Linked DNA regions of Homo sapiens: region 2 is linked to region 1. Evidence: promoter capture Hi-C in 16 types of primary human blood cells and fetal thymus (Javierre and others, 2016). All regions are on one chromosome and are shown on one strand. The core of a region is centred on a gene start or on the middle of the fragment in contact, and the rest is flanking DNA. Distances in the headings are between cores, read along the strand shown.

Region 1 (2,783 bases), core at 103-2,602:
CCTGGCTTTAGTTAGGAATCGTGCCATTTCTCAGAACTCACATCTTTTTTTTTTTTTTTTTTGAGCCAGAGTCTGGCTCTGTGCCCAGGCTGAAGTGCAATGGCAGGATCTCAGCTCACTGCAACCTTGGCCTCCCAGGTTCAAGCAATTCTCCTGCCTCAGCCTCCTGAGGAGCTGGGACTACAGGCGCACGCCACCACACCCAGCTAATTTTTGTATTTTTAGTAGAGTCAGGGTTTCACCATTTTGGCCAGGATGGTTTTCAACCTCTTGACCTCGTGATTCATCCGCCTTGGCCTCCCAAAGTGCTGGGATTACAGGCGTGAGCCACTGCACCTGGCCAAGAACTCACATTTTATAGACAGAAATCCACAGCCGATCTGCTTTCTGTCTTTGCTTTGCCTGCTAAGAGGCTCAGAATTAAATCCATGGCCCAACTCTCAGGTGGACAGACCTCACAGCATATGTTTTGGAAGCCATGCTCCTAGACTATTTCACGCTCCACTCTAATCCTCATTGTTCTTGCTCACTCCCTCTATCGTGTAGTTCCATCATCACAAACCCTTTTTTGAACAAGATCTGGTAGAAGACACACTCTTTGTAGGTCTGGGTTTGGAAGTCCCTGAATACAAACCTATGGGCTAAGATGCTCTCATGCCTGCTTCCACCCACAACACACATACAGGGAAGGGCTGGTGCCCACTCACCTGGGATGAGGATGCTTCCCTCCAGGTAGCCCCCAGTTCTCATGGCCAGCCACAGGCCCGCTGGGATGGAGCCGGGAGAGTGGAGGTTTGTGCTGGTCCACATTGCCTTCTGTGTGCCTGGGACTTAGTGTGTGAGCATGTGTCTGTGTGTTCACAGGTCAGAGGTAGAGGAAGGGCAGGGGTCCAAGGAGAGGCAGAGGAGAAGAGAGAAGTCCTGGGGCAGGGAAGCAGAGAGGCAGAGGAGAAACAGCTTGGGCAGGGGTGGGGGGTGTTGAGGCGGTGGAGCAGGAGACAAGCCTGGAAGGGGTCCTGGGGTGCCTGGCACTGTCCCAGGCCTTGCCCCACCCTGGACAGAGGATGGCTGTGACAGACCCACTCCCCACCAAGTCACAGCCCCTCCAGCACTTTGAGGGACCCTGGGCATAGCTGGTCCCCACCCCTGCCCCTCACCTCCATGATGGCTCCAGAAGGGTATTCCAGCCCCAGGCAATGCCAGCCTTGGGCCTTTGAAGCTGAGCTTGTACTCAAACCTGCGTAGAGGAGGACACCCCGTCTCAGGGCTGTGGGGGTCCAGGAGCAGGAGGAGAAGGCAGAATAAGGGACCTGGACCACTGACCGCCGGCATCGTGAAGGCGCCTGAAGTCTGGGCCCCGGGGTAGATCATAGCTGGGAGGCCGGGGAGGGGATCCTGGGATAGGGCCAGGCAGGGAGGAGCTGGGGACTGGCCAGGAGCTGGGTTTTGGCACTGTCCTCTCCCTCTATCTCCAGCATAGACATCCTGTTCCTTCCAGGCCTGCTGTCAGGCCCCGCCCATCCCTCACCTCCAGTCTGACGTGGGCAGCGGGACCCCACGACAACCTGAGCTCTGCCCCTGCTCCTGACTCAGGCCATCTTTCTGTCTCCCATCACTTCCAGCAGTTGGATGCGGCAGAGGGGAAGGGGGGGTGCCCAGGGTTGGCCCCCACCCTTCAGCAGCCCTGGCCTCCCCTCCCAGTTAGGGAGACAGGCCTCCACATTCTGCCTGTGTCCCCCAGCATGGATGGCACATCTATCTGGACACCCATCCTTCTCTCCTCCCTGCCCCCTCTCTCCCTCTCCCGAATTCCCCCAGGCTCATCCTTCCAAGCAGCCTGGTTTCCTCAACAAAAGCATTACATGGAAAAAAGAAGGGAGTCTTTAGAGACAGCACAAAAACGCAACGTGCAGACCTTGTTTGGAGCCAAATTTTAACCCAACTGCAAAAAAAAAAAAAGATATTGGGGAAATTTGAACAATGGATATTTTTGAACAATGGATATTTGACTATATTGAGGAATTGTTAAAAATTTTAGGGCACTGTGGCTCATGTCTGTAATCTTAGCACTTTGGGAGCCCAAGGCAGGTGGATCACCTGAGGTCAGGAGTTCGAGACCAGCCTGGCCAACATTGTGAAACTCTGTCTCTACTAAAAAAAAATACAAAAAATTAGCCAGGCCTGGTGGTGCATGCCTGTAATCCCAGCTACTTGGGAGGCTGAGGCAGGAGAATCACTTGAACCTGGGAGGCAGAGATTGTAGTGAGCGGAGATTGCACCATTGCACTCCAGCCTGGGTGATAAGAGCAAAAATCCATTTCGAAAAAAAAAATTGAGAACTAATATGGTATTGTGGTTATGTTTTTTATTTTTTATTTTATTTTATTTATTTATTTTTTGAGACGGAGTCTCGCTCTATCGCCCGGGCTGGAGTGCAGTGGCGCGATCTTGGCTCACTGCAAGCTCTGCCTCCCGGGTTCACACCATTCTTCTGCCTCAGCCTCCCAAGTAGCTGGGACTACAGGTGCCCGCCACCATGCCTGGCTAATTTTTTGTATTTTTTAGTAGAGATGGGATTTCACCGTGTTAACCAGGGTGGTCTCGATCTTCTGACCTCGTGATCCGCCTGACTTGGCCTCCCAAAGTGTTGGGATTACAGGCGTGAGCCACTGCGCCTGGCCTTTTTTTTTTTTTTTGAGAGGTGGTGTCTTCCTATGTTACCAAGGATGGACTCAAACTTCTGGGCTCAAAGGATCCTCCTGCCTCCTGAATAGCTGGAAATA
Region 2 (2,783 bases), core at 97-2,596, 160 kb after region 1:
TAAGCCTTTCAAAGGCAGTTATCATCTGTTAAGTCTGGTACTCCTCCAGATCAGCCAACTATCTACCTCTGACTGCTTCCTTTTTTACTGCCCTCTTTGTAAAAGAAGCTGCTCCTGCTGCTAGCTCTCTATATCTGTAGTCCAAGTGCTGCTGCTGAGGCTGTTGGTTTATGCAGCGTGTGATTTCCCTGGAACTATTTACACTGCAGGATTTTTTTTTTTTTTTTTTGAGACGAAGTCTCACTCTGTTGCCCAAGCTGGAGTGCAATGGCGCAATCTCTGCTCACTGCCAACCTCCACCTCCTGGGTTCAAGCGATTCTCCTGCCTCAGCCTCCTGAGTAGCTGGGACTACAGGTACACACCACCATGCCTGGCTAATTTTTTTGTATTTTTAGTAGAGATGGGGTTTCACTATGTTGGCCAGGCTGGTCTTGAACTCCTGACCTCGTGATCCACCTGCTTTGGCCTCCCAAAGCGCTGGGATTACAGGTGTGAGCCACCGCGCCCAGCCCTACACTGCAGGATTTTTTTAACTTGGGAAGATTATGATCTGCCCTGGAGTCAAGTGGCTAAGAGTGAGAATAACAGTGAGAATCAGGGAGAATTCTCAGAACTAACAGAGCATGAGAAAATATTTACTAACATGGACAAAAGCAGAGGTAGAAATTTTTTTCTGCTACACACTCTGGCTCCCCAACTTGATCTTCACACTTCTTTTGTTTTTAATGACTGAAGTGAAAAGTTCTGTCATATAAAATTATTTTCCTATCAATAAACATACCACAAACCACATGTGCTGGTCCTTAGCCAGAAACTTGGGTGTGGCGTCTTGTGGTATGTAGTGACCAGTTGCACTCCACTGGTTCATGACAATGAGGGGGAAAGAAGCCCAGCAGCTTCATGCCATCTGGTTTTTCTCTTTGTTCTTAACAGTGACAAGGAGTGGAAAGGAAGCCCTTTTGCCAAGCAGCGTCTGTGCTGGAAATAGAGCAAGCAGGCAGTTATCTTACTGAGCAACTTCTTCTACAGGGGGGTTTTCTCTGTGTTCGAGTTCCAAGGCACAATCCTCAAGCAGGTTTTCACTGAGGGGCAGTCAGTGCAGAGCTGGGGACACTTTCTCCATTGGATCTGCTATCCAAATGTTTGGATCAAAAAAGGCAAACTAGAATATATAGGGAAACAGTCTAAAAGCATAAAATGTTAGTGTTAGGTTAGTTGATCACCTAGTATGATTTTTTCATTTTACAGATGAGGACATGAGGCCCAGAGAGGTAAAGGTTTTTTTTTTTTTTTTGGAGACAGAGTCTTGTTTTGTCATCCAGGCTGCAGTGCAGTGGCGTGATCTCAGCTCTCAGCGCACCGCAACCTCTACCTCCCAGGTTCAAGCGATTCTCCTGCCTCAGCCTCCTGAGTAGCTGGGATTACAGGCACCTGCCACCATGCCTGGCTAATTTTTGTATGTTTAGTAGAGACGAGGTTTCACCGTGTTGGCCAGGCTGGTCTCAAACTCCTGGCCTCAAGTGATCTGCCTGCCTTGGCCTCCCAAAGTGCTGGGATTACAGGCGTCAGCCACCACGCCCAGCTGGTAAAGGGTTTTCCATTGGCCAGGTGCAGTGACTCATGCCTGTAATCCCAGCACTTCGGGAGGCCAAGGTGGGAGGATTGCTTGAACTCAGGAGTTCAAGACCAGCCTGGGCAACAAAGTGAGACCCTGTCTCTACAAACAATAGAAAACATTAGCTGGGCACGGTGGCATGTGCCTGTAGTCCCAGCTACTCAGGAGGCTGAAGTAGGAGCGTCTGAGCCCATGAGGTTGCGGCTGCAATGAGCCAAAGTCATGCCACTGTACTCCAGCCTGGGTGACAGAGTCAGACCCTGTCTCAAAAAAAAAACACAAAAACCTTACCCATCACATCTCCTTTTCTCTTCTAAATGTGAATAAAAATGAGGAAAAGGCCAGGCGCAGTGGCTCATGCCTGTAATCCCAGCACTTTGGGGGGCTGAGGCGTGTGGATCACGAGGTCAGGAGATGGAGACCATCCTGGCTAACACGGTGAAACCCCGTCTCTACTAAAAATACAAAAAAATGAGCCGGGCATGGTGGTGGGCGCCTGTAGTCCCAGCTACTTGGGAGGCTGAGGCGGGAGAATGGCGTGAACCTGGGAGGCGGAGCTTGCAGTGAGCGGAGATCGCAGCACTGCACTCCAGCCTGGGTGACAGAGCGAGACTCTGTCTCAAAAAAAAAAAAAAGGAAAAATATAAGAAGAGAAGGGCAGTTTAATGGCAAATAGACTACAGATGATCCTCCAACTTACAATGGTTAGACTTATCATTTTTTGATTCTAGGATGATGTGAAAGCAATAGTCAGTAGAAACTGTAGTTGAAATTATTAATTTAGATCTTTTCCTGAGCTAGCGATATGCAGGTATGATATTCTCTAATGCTGGGCAGCAGCAGGAGTCAAAGCAGTCAGCCGTGCAGTCATGAGAGTAAACAACCAGTATTCTACAGTGTACTGTTTTGCCAGATGATTTTGCCCAACTGTAGGCTAGTGTAAGTGTTCTGAGCAGGTTTAAGGTAGGCTAGGCTGAACTATGATGTTTGTTTGGTAGGTTAGGTGTATTAAATGCATTTTCAACTTAGATATTTTCAATTTATGATGGGTTTATTGGGATAACACTCATTGTAAGTTGAGGGACATCTCTGTAGTCTTTTCTTTAGTACTGCAGTCTCTCAGGAATGGACCAGCAGTTTACAGAAGTAACTTGGAGAGCTCCCGCA

The links. Contacts are between HindIII fragments. The CHiCAGO score rates a contact against its expected background, and 5 or more counts as called.
Region 2: a contact is called between a fragment that was not itself captured here and the fragment with the promoter of LMAN1L in region 1, in 3 of 17 cell types (monocytes, megakaryocytes and naive CD8 T cells). The highest score is 5.3, in monocytes.

The regions. Positions count from the first base shown.
Region 1 is chr15:74,811,404-74,814,186 of GRCh38, reverse strand. LMAN1L (lectin, mannose binding 1 like) reads right to left here and starts at 1,352. Exons shown (of 14, transcript NM_021819.3): 1 at 1,158-1,352. The coding sequence starts at 1,332. The HindIII fragment of the contact is 4,468 bases long and covers 1-2,783 here.
Region 2 is chr15:74,651,700-74,654,482 of GRCh38, reverse strand. The region is part of intron 4 of EDC3 (enhancer of mRNA decapping 3); the gene reads left to right. Among named protein-coding and RNA genes, the nearest start is that of CLK3, 37 kb to the right of the region's middle. The HindIII fragment of the contact is 9,021 bases long and covers 1-2,783 here.